Linked DNA regions of Homo sapiens: all the other regions are linked to region 1. Evidence: promoter capture Hi-C in 16 types of primary human blood cells and fetal thymus (Javierre and others, 2016). All regions are on one chromosome and are shown on one strand. The core of a region is centred on a gene start or on the middle of the fragment in contact, and the rest is flanking DNA. Distances in the headings are between cores, read along the strand shown.

Region 1 (2,892 bases), core at 100-2,599:
GGGAGGGCTGCCAGGGCTGTGTGGGGAGACACATGATGGGTTGGTGGGGGCCTGGGAGAGGCAGGGTGCTCCAGGTGTCAGGATGATTTGAGAGCCATAAACCACGATGGTGCCTCCGTGTGAGTTCAGCTTGAGGCAGAGAGGATAGGGGACTCATCCGGTGTCAGCACAGGGTCCCACCTCAGAGTCCTGCATGCTCCCTGCCCCCAGCACTGACCCCTCCAACCCTAGCAATGGGGAGGTTTTAAATGCTTGGAATAGAGGGGGCAGATCAAACCCCAGCATAACCCCACCCTTTCATTCACACCAGCCACACCTTTCCAAGGCCCCGTCCCATTACTCAGGGAGACAGATCATTGGACTTGGCTGCTTTCTGGGATTGCGGGGGGAGTGGTAGGGCCCTACCCTACCTTCAGCTGTCTCGGACATCCCGCACTCTACCAAGTTCTTGGACAGAGAGAAGGGGAGGGAGCAGAACTCTGAATCAGGATCCTTTTCCAACAAAGTACCCCGCTATACACCCCAAGTCCCCGTCGTCAGCTGGGTAGAATATTGTCCCTCTGTGGTCTCAGAATGAAGTCAGGGGAAGGTATCTGGGGACACGGAGCTCAGGGCCAGTGCCTGGGGACAAGCAACCACCAGCAGCCCCCACAGGGCGAAATCGGAGCCTGAGTAACCTCCAGGGCCGGATTCAGCCTCAGGGCAGCTCCCTTCGGGTCCTGCCCCAGTCCCCGGCAAGTCTCCGCGGAAGCTCCGCTGAACTGGGAGTGGGAAGCAGGAGAGGGGCTGGGTTGAGGTGGGTCCGAGGGGAAGTGAGGTGCGGAGGGGAAGTGAAAGGGGAGAGGACGGCAGGGAAGCTGAAGGGGTGTGAGGTCCCCCGGGAGGAGAACTGGAGAGGGCCAGACGGAGGGTTACGGGTGAAAGGGAGGGTCTGTGAGGGAGCTGGGGCTGAGGCTGTGTTAGGGGGTCTGGGAGAGTCTCAGGGTTTCTGGAAGGTGGACACAAGGTTCGGGGGTTGTCAGGTTTCTGGATGAGATTCTTAGGATTTCTGGGCTCGGGGGCTCGGGATGAGGGACAACTCGGGCTGGACAAAGGCTGTCCACGTCCCCGAGTCTGAGCGCGTCTCAGGATTTCTGGGCTCGAGATCTCGGCCCGGGCATCACGGTGGGCCGGCTCACCTGTAGACATCGGTCCAGAGGTAGGTGCCCAGCACGTACACCGCCTCCACGCGGCTCCCGTACTGCAGCCGCACGGTCCGCTCGCGCAGCATCCTCCCCGCCGCAGTGCCCGCGCTCGCTGGTCCGGGGCGGCCGGGAGCACCTGCAGCAGGTGCGCCTTCTCCAGCAGCCTGCGCCCCACGGCCCCGCGCGCAGCCTTATCCAGCGGCCGGTGGGCGGGGCGGCCCGCCCCAGTCCTCTCGCAGTGGGCTGCGGGCCTGTCCGTCAAGCGTGGTCCCGCCCCTAACTCGTCCCGCCCCGCTGAGGTCGTGGCGAAGTCATCAGGGACCAGTTTTGTGCTTTCCATGGTTGGATTGTCATTCTTTCATTCGACAAACCTTCGGTGGGCGCCCAGGTGTTGGAGGGCCCTAGCTCCCCTCCGGACGCCCCAGCCCAGTGGGGCTGAAAATGCAAATGTGGGAACACAAAGAGGGTGCCCTAACCCAGCCTGGGGGCCAGGAAGCCTTCCCAGAGAAGACGATCCTGGAACCTTCTTAAAGGAGGCGTTTGCAAATTAAAGGCGAGGAGAGGGAGCTGCCTGTGCAAAGCCGGGTGCAGCCCGGTACCCCCATCCCCCAACAGTCAGATGAACCTCACCATAGAGAAAACGGGAAGCGGTGGGGATGGGGAACCCGGCAGCTGAGGGAGACCAGGACGCCAAGCCAAGGCATTGGAGGGTGGGAGATGGGAGCCTGGAGTGGTTGTCTCCGCGAGCCGTGGTCGGGTGTGCTCGTGAAATGGGTCATTCTGGGCTGGGGAGGGGCAAGGAAGCCCCTGGCTGTGGCCAGAGCTGGAGAGGTGGGGACTGACCCGGCCACTGCTTAGGGACTGGGATTTTGGTGGCACCTGGTGACTGATAGGATGTGTGGGTGGAGGGAGAGGAGAGGGGTAAGGATTAGGGCCCCGGTTCTGGCCTGGGCCACCAAGGGAAGGGGGGTGCCACCCAGAGGTCATCGTGTGTCTCACAGAGGCTGAGATGTAGGATGACAATCAGTGTGGGCCTCGGCCAGCCCCTCCCATGTCCCAGCCCTTCCCCTGGGACCCAGTGGGAGTGCTGTTCAGACACATACATCAGCCCTGTGTGAGGAAGTGGTCTTTGGTAGGTGAGGACAGAAACTGAGGGGGGGTGGGCAGAGGCCGTGGGAGGGAAGGAGTGGGGCGGAGGGGATGTGTGTTTGGGAAGGAGTTAGAGCTGATGGAAGATGGAGCTCCAGGAACGGGTGCCCCCAGACAAGAGGGGTGAGGCCCACAAGTGCCCAGTGCTGATATACCCAGCCCTTGGACTCCAACCTTCTCCCTGAGGCGGCCCAAATTAGGAGGTGGTGAAGAGCCCAGCTGCTTCTGAGTGGCAGGGATTTGGGAGGAATGTGAGTGGGGAAGAGGGAAGGCCCGAGTTTTAGCCAGGAGGTCATTTGTCCCCCAAAGGCACAGCTCACAGACCCAGGGAGAGGCCAGTAACTGTTTTTTTTTTTTTTTTTTGAGACAGAGTTTTCCTCTTGTTACCCAGGCTGGAGTACAATGGCGCCATCTCAGCTCATTGCAACCTCCGCCTCCCAGGTTTAATTGATTCTCCTGCCTCAGCCTCCCAAGTAGCTGGGATTACAGGCAGGCACCACCACACCCAGCTAATTTTGTATTTTTAGTAGAGACGGGGTTTCTCCATGTTGGCCAGGCT
Region 2 (2,892 bases), core at 286-2,785, 510 kb before region 1:
GAGACAGGGTCTCACTCTGCCATCCAGGTCGGAGTGCACTGCCATGATCACGGCTCACTGCAATCTCAACCTCCCGGGCTCTGGTGATCCTCCCAACTCAGCCTACCGGGTAGCTGGGACTACAGGCACACGCCACCACACACAGCTAACTTCTGTATTTTTAGTAGAGAAAGGGTTTTGCCACATTGCCCAGGCTGGTCTGGAAATCCTGGGCTCAAGTGATCTACCCACCTTGGCGTCCCAAAGTGCTGGGATTACAGGTGTGATCACTGCGCCCGGGCCACCTGCACATGTAAAATTGTGAACTTCTGTATACTTCAGTAACTTTTCCAAGATTTCTTTGACGCAAAGTTCTCAGAAATCTTAAAGCTAGCATTTCAGAATAGAAAAAGTAGCTTCTGGTTCACTAGTGAAATTTTACCAATAGAATTTAAAAACAAAAAGCTACTAACGCATATCAGCTCAGAACACTACCAGCAGATCTTTTCTTTAACTTCCTGAAGCACTGGGATTCATTCTTTTGGCAAAGAAAGGATGAACAACACTGTAACCCAAAGAAAAGATACCACTGCCAGAAAAGACTTCTTTTCGAAAGCAGCTCTAAGCAAAAGATAGGAGGAAAACAAGGAAGCCAGGCCAAACGTCTTGGTTAACTCTCCGCTGAAAGGACGCCACATGAGATGATCTAAGAAGCCAGCCAGCCAGCCAGACGCAGGGAAATCACAGCAACTCTTTGGAGTGCAAACAGCAACCCCACAATCCAATCTACCCGAAATCCTGCGGTTCATTTGAGGCTTGCCCCGCTAGTCAGGAGGTGATTCAGTGATGGCTACAAATGCTGCTCATGTGCATCCTGGAGCTGGCACACCTGGCTTGCCCATCACCAGCCTGGAGACACCGCCAGGAGCAGAAGCCCGGAGGCCAGTAAAGACCCCAACTTTGCAAGTCAGGGGCGCGAGCGCGCTCGCCTCTCAGGTCCGCAGAGGGAACGGATTTCTGGCCTGGAGGGTGGGGTGCGGGGTCAGTGTCCTCTACAGGATATAGGAGGACGTGCCCCCGAAGCTGCTCCGTCCCTCCACCCCCTGGGATGCCACAGAACACCCGCCAGCGAGTTTCTTCCCCAGCGCCCACGAGAGTTGGGCTGCGGGCGGCAGCGGCAGGCGAAGAATCCAGCGCGGGGAACTCAGGCCCCGGCGGTGCACGACCCCCCACAGCCCCCACCCGCCCCCGCGCTCGCGCAACAAAACTTGCCACGGCCGCGCCTCGACCCAGCTGTGCGCCCGCGGGTCCCGGATTCACCGCCCGCCCAGCCTGGCGCGGCGCCCTCACCTCAGAAACGCTGGGTGGACTTCGCGTAACTTCCCATTCACAGGGCAGCCGGCAGCCGCGCCGCCGCGCCTCGGCCCAGCTCCTGGCGCCGCAGATCGCCCGTCCCGCGTTCCCAAAAGCACCGCGCTCGCTCAGAAGCTCGGGCAGCCTCGCGACCCTCACCTACGCCTCCCAGTACCGCCGCTGTCTCAACCGCCACCCAGCCCCTCGCCTGCGCCTGCGCCTGCAGCCCACTGGCTCCTCAGGATCCCGATGGGCGTGTCAGGATAACCCAAGGCGCAGGCGCGGCGGGGCCTTAAAGGGACCCGGCGGCCTCTTCTGCACAACGGGTTCGAGCAGGTTAGGGGCCGCGCAGGCGGAGGAAAGGAGTAACCCAGGGGAAGGACCGAGTGCAGCGGGGACGGGGAAATCCCTCTCTCCCCTCCGCCTGTCTTTCAAAGCACCAGCCCTCGACCCTCCAAATCGCTGGTTTCCCCGGCCACTTGAACAGCCCCTGCCAGGTTGAAGAGGCAGGAGACACACCCCCTCTGGGGCTGGAGCGACCCCGCGCTTAGGACTGCAGGCCTCGCGCTGCCGCACCGCCCCGAATCTGACTTCCAGGCACGGGCACGCGGTGCAGTCGGGCAGGCTTCAGAAGAGCCCCCAGCTCTCCCAGAGGTGGCCTTAGGTCACTCTCAAAAAGAATAACCAATGTGTCAATGGCACTTGTAGTTATTTTCTAATTTAAATTTATTAACAGATTTTGCAGATGGGCTTCCACTGAAATAAGCCTTTGAGAAAAAGAAAAACTTTTTTTTTCAACAGGATTAGAATACCAAGAAATAGGAAGTAAAGCCATGCCGTCCACCCAGCTAAAAACTTTGAAAACTTGATATTTTATCTAAGGCAAATGTTTGCATAACTTTAGGTCATGCCATTATTTAAAGTCAATTTCAGTTAACAATTTCATTGCAACTGAATCTATCTTGTATAAGAAAACTAAGATACATCCCTGATAATCTACCTCTCCCCTCCTATACTCCATCCGTCAGCAAATCCTACTGGTTTTTACCTTCCAAATTTTCCTTGAATCTGTCCTCTTCTATCTCCTCCGTCACCACCCTAGTCTAGGCTGCCTTCACCTGGGGAGTGAGGGTCGAGGGACTACTGACCTAGTCTTCTTGTGGTTTACCCATATCCCCTTTATCGCCTCTCTAATCTCAACACAACAGGCAGAGTGGCTTTTCCAAAATATAATGTGACCGTGTCACTTCCCAGCCTAAAGCACTTAAACACCTTCCCATTCTCTTAGACAAAACCTCCTAACTAACCAAGCCCCGAATGGCCAGGCGCCTTGCCCACTTCTTCATCTCTTCTCACTACTCAGACCAATTCTGTTCTGCTCTCTCTGCTCCAGCCAAACTGGCCTCTTTTATTCCCTATTTACCAGCTTCCTGGCCTCCACAGAGCTTTTGCTCATGCTTTGCTCTGTGCCTGGAAAGTTCTTCTAACCCCTATTCTTCTGAGAACAGCTGTAGTCTCCACCTCTGAAAAGCACCTTCTGACCTCCCTATGGTGGTCCCT
Region 3 (2,892 bases), core at 138-2,637, 460 kb after region 1:
CTTACTCCCACCGCCCCAGTGAGAAAGGAATTCACTGCTGCTGTGGCAAGTGGCAGAGCTGGGATTTGAACCTGAATCATCCCGGCACCAAATCCTATCCTCTAAACGTGGCCTTCGGTGTCACCGCCTGGAGAGTCACCGTGCTGTGGGCAGTGCCCTCCTCCTTTGGACTCAGTTTCCACATCTGTAAAGCAAGAGCAACACTGCCCTCTTGGAGCTACTTTCTGGTTCTGACATGCCATGCTTTTGTATTAGTTCTCTTTTTAAAGATGAGAATGGTTATTGTTTATTTATTTATTTATTTTTGAGACAGTCTTGCTCTGTCGCCTAGGCTGGAGTGGCAGTGGTGTGATCTTGGCTCACTGCAACATCCACCTCCCAGGTTCAAGTGATTCTCCTGCTTCAGCTTCTCGAGTAGCTGGGACTACAGGCATGTGCCACCACGGCTGGCTAATTTTTTGTATTTTTAGTAGAGATGGGGTTTCACCATGTTGGCCAGGCTGGTTTCGAACTCCTGACCTCAAGTGATCTGCCTGCCCCGGCCTCCCAAAGTGCTGGGATTACAGGCATGAGCCACCATGACTGGCCTGAAGTGGGTACTTTTTAATCCCCATTTTGCAGATGAGTAAACTGAGGCCCAGAGATAGGATTAACTCATCCAAGGTCTCATAGCTGCTGAGTGGAACCCAGGTGGTATTGGGGAACCTGAACTCTTTTCTAACCCCGTGAGGATCTGTGGTGGTGGCAGGGGGCTGCTGTGAGCCATCCCCACTCCCTTGTCCACATCCTTCTGAGACTAACAGCCTGTGTGTGCAAAATGGTGGCCACAGGCCTATGGGTATGGGCAGGGCTTGCTGGGCTGCGTCCTCGTCCCGACACTTCAGAGCCCCGCATTAGCCTGTAGCAAACACCTTCCAGATTCCAGCCCCAAAGGCTAGGGAGGCAGTGCGATCAGAGGATTGAGATTAGGCTTTAGGGTCAGTGCTCACTGGCTGGAATCCTAGTGTGGTCACCTTGTCCTCTTGCTTCTGTGACCTGGGGCAAATATTTGCTTCTCTGAGCCTCTGTTTCCTCATCCGTAAGCTGGGGTGTTACGAGAATTAGATAGAATAATGCTAATAAAGTGTCAGGCTCCATACATGTTGGTGTCTCTCTTCCTTTCTAGGGAAAGCCTTGGGCTTTGGAGGGGAGGGCAGGAATCAGTCCCAAAGGGTGAAGAAAGGGGAGGACATTGGACTTTCTGCCCTGGAAGGGAAGGATCCTGGGTTTTGGCCCCAGGGTAGAGTAGCAGCCTCTTTCTGTATCATCATCAAATTGTATTTAAGGAGCAATTTGGACAGGAGGCTGGGCAAAGTGCCTCCCTTTTTCCTTCTGTAAAATGGGTATAGGTCTTTCTGCTGCTTCCCTCCTGGAACTCTTGGGGCAGCAGAGCCCTCAGAGAAAGGCTGAGCAGACCTCAGAGGTTTTGAATGAGCCCACTGGGAGGGGGCCCTGTAGCAGGAGTGCCGTGCAGCTACAGGTTTGTTTTCCAAAATCCTTTGCTGAAGTAAAAGTTTAGTCCTGAGAGTTTTCAGCGTGGGTCTAAAAGGCACAGTCACACGCTTAGCAGAGAGTAACTGGTATCATCAGTCACAGTGAGAAATGCAGGCAGGTGTCAGGGTTCACATCTGTGATCCCAGCACTTGTTGAGGTCAACAAGGGAGGATGGCTTGAGCCCAGGAGTTTGGGACCAGCCTGGGCAACAGAGTAAGACCCTATCTCTAGAAAAAATTTTAAAAAATTAGCCAGGCATGGTGGTGTGTGCCTGTAGTCCCAGCTACTGGGGAGGCTGAGGCGAGAGGATCACTTGACCCAGGAGTTCCAGGCTACAGTGAGCCATGATTGTGCCACTGCACTCCAACCTGGGAAATCGAGACCAAAGCAGCCTCAGTACCTATCGATGGGGGCTATATAAATTATACCCCCACAAAAAACACCTACCTCAAAACAAAACCAAACCTACTATGCAGCTGTTAAAAAAAGTGGGGTTGATTTCTATGTATTAGTACTATTCTGAAATCATCACTGAGATTTAGGTTAAAAAGGCAGTTGCAGCACTGTGAGTGCTGTGTGCTCCTTCTGTATGAAACAAGGCATATCTGCAGATATGCAAGTTGGCCCATGCATGGGAGAGTTCTGGAAGGATTCTTGAGAAGTCAGTAACAGTCATCTCTTCTGGGGGACTGGGGGATTAGGGCAACCAGGGTGGGAGGTTGACTAACTTTTTTTTTTTTAATTTTTTGAGACAGAGTCTTGCTCTGTTTCCCAGACTGGAGTGCGGTGGCACGGTCTTGGCTCACTGCAACCTCCGCCTCCCACGTTCAAGTGATTCTCCTGCCTCAGCCTACTGAGTAGCTGGGATTAAAGGCATGTGCCACCATGCCCAGCTAATTTTTGTATTTTTAGTAGAGATGGAGTTTCACCACGTTGGCCAGGCTGGTCTCGAACTCCTGACCTGAAGTGATCCGCCCACCTCAGCCTCCCAAAGTGCTGAGATACAGGCGTGAGACACTGTGCCCGGCTCGGAGACTAACTTTTCATTGTCTACCTGTTGTATCGTTTGAGTCTTGAAAGGTGCTAGAGTGTAGTAGCTGCTTCTAAGCACAGACTCCAGAGCCCCATGGCCTGGGTTCGAACCCTGGCTCTTCCTAGCTGTGTGATCTTGGGCAAGTTACTTAACCATTCTTGGTCTCATTTTCTCATTTATAATTTGGAATAATAGACGTTAATATTTGTAAAGTGCTTAAAATTATGTCTGAGGTATCGTTGGCAATGCAAGAATGTCTACTGTTACTAATATTGCCATTAACCTGCATTTCATTTTTGTTTAGTAAGCCAGTTTAATAAAAATAA
Region 4 (2,892 bases), core at 218-2,717, 320 kb after region 1:
GTCACCCGGGCTGGAGTGCAGTGGTGGCAACCTCCACCTCCCAGGTTCAAGCAGTCTCCTGCCTCAGCCTCCCAAGTAGCTGGGATTACAGGCGCATACCACCACGCCTAGCTAATTTTGTATTTTTAGTAGAGACGGGGTTTCACCATGTTGGCCAGGCTGGTCTTGAACTTCTGACCTCGTGATTTGCCCGCCTTCGCCTCCCAAAGTGCTAGGATTACAGGCGTGAGCCACTGTGCCCAGCCTCAGAAGTGTAATTCTATTCAACTTGGCTACAGAAAGCTACACCTGTACTTGAAAGATTAATTTTCTGATCCAGTGTCTATAAAAATGAAACCAGTGATCCTGGGAGTGATGCGCTAACCAATGGAAACGATTCTTTCTCTTTTTTTTTTTTTGGAAACTGGGTCTCACTCTGTCACCTAGGCTGGACTGTAGTGGCGCCATCTTGGCTCACTACAGCCTCGACCTCCTGGGGTCAAACAGTTCTCCTGCCTCAGCCACCCTAGTAGCTGAGACTGTAGACGTGCACCTCCACGCCCAGCTAATTTTTAAAATTTTTTTGTGGAGACAAGGTCTCACTATGTTCCCCAGGCTGGTCTCAAACTCCTGACCTCAAGCAATCCTTTTGCCTTGGCCTCCCACAGTGCTAGGATTATAGGCATGTGTCACTGTGCCTGGCTTCTTTTTACTCTTTTCAATGTGACTACCACAAAATTTAATATTACATATTAAGTTTTTTGTAGCTCATATGTTATTCCTGTTGGACATCACAGCCTTCGAAAGCATAGCTGGAAAACCAGTAATTTCCTCCAGACCCCACTCTTTCTGCATCTGTTCTCTAGTTTCTCCTCTCTGTAAAATGGCAAGATAGAGTTTGGGCTAAATTTCTCTTGAGGTTACTTCTGGATTTCGTATTCCCTGATTCTGAGGACAGTAGTCAGCGGGGAATCCCTGTCATAGTGTTTGGAGAGATGTTTTCTGGGAGATGCAGATCCGGTCGTCCTATTTCTGCCAATGAGTCATGAAATTTTCAAACGCAGAGTCTTTAAATATTGTAGTTGGACCTTTAAGTTCTCTGTCTGTGAGGCATGCCTGGGCTTGGCTTGTGGCTTCTTCATCTTTGTTTTTCTAGCAAGCACCCAGAGCAGCCCGGCGTGTAGTAAGCTGTCAATATATGTTTGTTCATCTAAATAATATCCAGCGGAAGAACTGAAGCCCAGGGAGATGCTGAGGCCTCCTGAGGCCACACAGCTGGCAGATAGGATAGCCAGGAAGTGTACAGGCATCTGCATCAGTAGGAGGATTGTCAGAAACACAGAATCTGGCCAGGCGTGGTGGTACACGCCTGTAATCCCAGCACTTTGGGAGGCTGAGGCAGGACGATTGCTTGAGCCCAGGAGTTGGAGACCAGCCTGGACAACATGGTGAGACCCCATCTCTACAAAAATTAGAAAAAAATTAGCCAGCCGCGGCCAGGCGCAGTGGCTCACGCCTGTAATCCCAGCACTTTGGGAGGCCGAGGCGGGCAGATCACTTGAGGTCAGGAGTTCGAAACCAGCCTGGCCAACATGGTGAAACTCCCGTCTCTGCTAAAATATACAAAAATTAGCCGGGCGTGGTGGCAGGCAACTTAATCCCAGTTACTTGGGAGGCAGAGGCAGGAGAATCGTTTGAACCCGGGAGGCGGAGGTTGCAGTGAGCCAAGATCGAGCCATTGCACTCAAACCTGGGGGATAAGAGTGAGACTTCTCTCAAATAAAAGAAAAGAAAAGAAAAAAATTAGTCAGGTGTGGTGACGCAAACCTGTAGTCCCAGCTACTTTGGAGGCTGAGGTGGGAAAATCGCCAGAGCCTGGGAAGTCCAGGCTGCTGTGAGCCATGATCATGCCATTGCACTCCAGCTTAGGTGACAGAGTGAGACCCTGTCTCAAAAAAATAAAAATAAACACTGAATCTCAGGTTCAGCCCCCAGACCTACTGAATCAGAATGTGTTTTTTTTTTTTTTTTTTTTTTTTGAGTTGGAGTTTCCCTCTTGTTGCCCAGGCTGGAGTGCAGTAGCGCAATTTGGGCTCACTGCAACCTCCACCTCCCAGTTCAAGCGATTCTCCTGCCTCATCCTCACAAATAGCTGGGATTACAGGCACCTGCCACCACACCCAGCTAATTTTTTGTATTTTTAGTAGAGACGGGGTTTTGCCATGTTGGCCAGGCTGGTCTCGAACTCCTGACCTCAGGTGATCCACCCACCTCGACCTCCCAAAGTGCTGGAATTACAGGCGTGAGCCATCACACCCGGCCCAGAATGTGCATTTTTAACAGGTGATTTTTATGCATCTTAAAGTATGAGAGGTGCAGCCAGGCATGGTAGCTCACACCTATAATCCCAGCACTTTGGGAGGCTGAGGCGGGCAGATCACCTGAGGTCAGGAGTTCGAGACCAGCCTGACCAACATGGAGAAACCCCGTCTCTACTAAAAATTAGCCGGGCGTGGTGAGCGGAGATTGCGCCATTGCACTCCAGCCTGGGCAACAAGAGCGAAACTCCATCTCAAAAAAAAAAAAAGTATGAGAAGTGCTACTGAAATCATACCACTTTTCCATACCCTGTGGAAGCCATTCAAAAGGTGGTTTCTCATACTTTAAGATGCATCTAGCTGGGCGCAGTGGCTCACGCCTGTAATCCCAACATTTTGGGAGGCCGAGGAGGGTGGATCACGAGGTCAAGAGATCGAGACCATCCTGGCTAACACGGTGAAACCCCGTCTCTACTAAAAATACAAAAAATTAGCCAGGCATGGTGGCGGGTGCCTGTAGTCCCAGCTACTCGGGAGGCTGAGGCAGGAGAATGGCATGAACCCGGGAGGTGGAGCTTGCAGTGAGCAGAGATCG
Region 5 (2,892 bases), core at 179-2,678, 300 kb after region 1:
GGTTTTCAACCCGACCACAAACTAAGCCTGTTTTAAAAACTATAGCAAGGCTGTGTGCAGTGGCTCACACCTGTAATCCCAGTACTTTGGGAGGCCGAGGTGGGTGGATCACCTGAGGTCAGGAGTTCCAGACCAGCCTGACCAACATGGAGAAACCCCGTCTCTACTAAAAATACAAAATTAGCCAGGTGTGGTGGCACATGCCTGTAATCCCAGCTACTCCAGAGGCTGAGGCCGGGGAATCACTTGAACCCGGGAGGCGGAGGTTGCAGTGAGCCGAGATTGCGCCATTGCACTCCAGCCTGGGCAAAAAGAGTGAAACTCCGTTCTCAAAAAAAAACAAAAAACAAAAAAACAAACAAAAAAACTCTACAGCATGTAACTAAACATCCAGACCCTGTTTTTACAAGGGGTAAATTAACTCAAACGGAGACCCCACCTTAGAAAATCAAACACAAAAGTAAAGAGAAACAAAAAGCCATGGAGCCGGAGCTGAGGAGGGGTCACCTGCGCGGGGCTGGGAACAGCGTCTGTCTGGTTGCCAAGGCCCAGCTGCCCCATCTTGTTTTCCCCAAACGCAAACACGGAGCCCGTTTCTGGAAGAAAGGAAAAATATCACAAAAGGGAAGATAATGGTGAATGTTTTGAACTAGATTTAGAATCAAAGGCATCAAAATAATAAAAACAGCTCATTTGCCAGGCAGAAGGCAAGTGAGACTGCCCAAAAGCTGGCAGTGCAGACGCTTCACAGCAAAGCCATTTCACATCAGAAACTGGGTGTGCAGAGAAACAGAGGGCAGCGTCTCCTACTCCCAGATGGGCCTCCTATGGCCACTGGGGAGGCTCCCAATGCCCTCAAGAAGCCACTCCATGCCAAGGTTCTCAGGGCCTCTTTCTGATCCTGACCAAGAGTCACAAGGGGAACTCCACCACCCCACGCCCCATCCCCAAGGCAGACCACCTGGCCTCTTGCCAAACTGAGAGGAGACACCAGCAGCCACCTCCTTACCCGTCAAGGCCAAGGTGTGGTTCCGCCCACATGCTGCAGACACAATCACTTCGTGGCTAAGACCCTCGATGAGTCTAGGGGCTTCTACTCTCTTGGTGTCACCATGTCCCAGCTGCCCCTTCTCATTTCGACCTGCAGATCACATGAGAGAAAGTAGAAAAGAGAGAGGGTGGTCCAGGCGGCACCACCAGGAGAAGGCGAGTACAAACACACTCTCAAATGATGCCCATCTGTCTCTGGAAGGTACCCTCCAAATTCCCAACAGCCAAGATCCAGAGCAAAGAACGCCCCGGCCCTCTGCCCGCTGGAATGGCGCCTGCTGCAGCTCCCCGGACCTCCTTCCCTGGGGCAGCAGCGGGACCACCCGTGCACACCTCCCACGTCTCTGCTACAAAGGGAAATGAGAGGCTCAGTGTGGTAGGGACACCATGCACAGGCGGGCATGCTCGCAGAAACACGCCGTTCCCACTTAGAGTGCCTGCAAGACAACCACCCCGTCCCTACCCTCTGAGATGTATTTTAAGACAGCACCCCATTTTGACACCTGGCTCACCAGAGTTTAATCACTTTGGTGCTCTGGGCATCCACTGAGGACCATTTGGTGTCTGCCCAATATTTCTCTTCCTTTTTCTACCCTGTAAATGGTGCTCACATAACAGTGCCAATCCCACCCCTAGGGATCGCCCCTCAAGGACTCTCAGCCACAGGAACCCTGGTGACAAAGCACAGATCCACCCTCAACACAACACGCCCAGCCCCACCTCCAGGACTGCTGCAGGTGCGACCAAGGCCCTGTATCTGTGAATTCCAGCGGAAGGCAGGCCTGAGGGCCAACCCCTACCCCCAAGTCCTCTGCAGAACCAAATTCAACTCCAAACAGACGTGGAAGTTGGGTGGGCCAAAAGGAGGGCTGGGAGCCCCTACACCGCATCTAGGTTTCAACACAAACTACCAAGTTCCAAAACAAAAATTCAACCGGCCACTCTCGGATCCCTCCCGATAAGAGAAAAACCACACATGTAACCTGACGTGGGGAAACTGACGGAGATCTTACAGTGGTGAGAAGTCAGGGCAATTCTAGGGGGTTTTGCAACCTTCTCCAGCAATGAACTTTTCACCCTTAGGTTGTGATAAAGGCAGACAGCAGAGCCATTAAGATGAGTTCCAGCTGTCCTGGAGAAGGCTTGCAGGAGCAGCCTCTGACTACAGAAGGAATTGCGACGAAGGGAAACCAGCCTCTGACTCGCTCTAATTAAAGAACGGCGGGCTGAAGGGCCAGCACTGGCACTCGAGCAGGAGAGGCAGATACACCAGCTTCCAATGGGAGCTGCCCAAGTTCATGTGAAAGGCATGTGAATACAGAGCAACAAGTGCAAGTCTCAGTGGACTGAGATGCGGCAGGACAGGGTGAGCGGGCCACAGATGGAGACCCCACATGAGCAATGCGTCAGCCACCCTCCCGTGGTACTCTACTCACACCAGACGCCGCCCCCTGCCTTCTAGAGTGGCGAGCAGTGGGCCTGTGACACCTTCCAACCCTGTCCTCACCAACTGCACTGTCTGCTCGGGGATCACACGTCTTGATGGCGGGACATACATTGTCCCTGCCCACAGGGTCAGAACTGAGGGCGCTTTCAGAGCCACCACGCAAGTGAAGCTCAGCGAGAGATCAGAACTGAGGTATTTTAAGTTTGGAACACTGACATAAAAGGCTGTGTTCAGTGTTGGAACACAAAGTAGGAGGGGTGCTCTGGGGGAAGGGACACACATCTATGCCAACCGGGAGAAAACAAAAACTGTGGCAATGTCAGCATGTCATCAAGAGACTATAAAGTATAAATTTGGGCCAGACACACTTTAGCTTTTTTCAACAGAATTACAAA

Evidence for each region. The method cuts DNA at HindIII sites, captures the fragments that hold promoters and counts their contacts. A CHiCAGO score of 5 or more calls a contact.
Region 2: a fragment that was not itself captured here is called in contact with the fragment with the promoter of PADI2 in region 1 in 1 of 17 cell types (neutrophils); the score reaches 8.9 in neutrophils.
Region 3: a contact is called between a fragment that was not itself captured here and the fragment with the promoter of PADI2 in region 1, in 1 of 17 cell types (monocytes). The highest score is 6.2, in monocytes.
Region 4: a contact is called between a fragment that was not itself captured here and the fragment with the promoter of PADI2 in region 1, in 2 of 17 cell types (neutrophils and monocytes). The highest score is 14.4, in neutrophils.
Region 5: a contact is called between a fragment that was not itself captured here and the fragment with the promoter of PADI2 in region 1, in 8 of 17 cell types (neutrophils, M0 macrophages, M2 macrophages and 5 more). The highest score is 12.0, in neutrophils.

What each region holds. Positions count from the first base shown.
Region 1 is chr1:17,118,102-17,120,993 of GRCh38, forward strand. PADI2 (peptidyl arginine deiminase 2) reads right to left here and starts at 1,350. Exons shown (of 16, transcript NM_007365.3): 1 at 1,179-1,350. The coding sequence starts at 1,270. RefSeq lists a silencer at 1,160-1,369 and an enhancer at 1,941-2,475. The HindIII fragment of the contact is 8,283 bases long and covers 1-2,892 here.
Region 2 is chr1:16,612,009-16,614,900 of GRCh38, forward strand. NBPF1 (NBPF member 1) reads right to left here and starts at 1,556. Exons shown (of 18, transcript NM_001405701.2): 1 at 1,330-1,556. RefSeq lists an enhancer at 1,400-2,357. The HindIII fragment of the contact is 6,693 bases long and covers 1-2,892 here.
Region 3 is chr1:17,576,758-17,579,649 of GRCh38, forward strand. All of the region lies in intron 1 of ARHGEF10L (Rho guanine nucleotide exchange factor 10 like), which reads left to right. Among named protein-coding and RNA genes, the nearest start is that of ARHGEF10L, 39 kb to the left of the region's middle. The HindIII fragment of the contact is 5,529 bases long and covers 1-2,892 here.
Region 4 is chr1:17,442,542-17,445,433 of GRCh38, forward strand. No RefSeq gene overlaps it. Among named protein-coding and RNA genes, the nearest start is that of RCC2, 4.3 kb to the left of the region's middle. The HindIII fragment of the contact is 6,214 bases long and covers 1-2,892 here.
Region 5 is chr1:17,421,696-17,424,587 of GRCh38, forward strand. It overlaps RCC2 (regulator of chromosome condensation 2), which reads right to left. Exons shown (of 13, transcript NM_018715.4): 5 at 1,010-1,141; 6 at 508-596. Among named protein-coding and RNA genes, the nearest start is that of RCC2, 17 kb to the right of the region's middle. RefSeq lists an enhancer at 356-1,110. The HindIII fragment of the contact is 4,272 bases long and covers 1-2,892 here.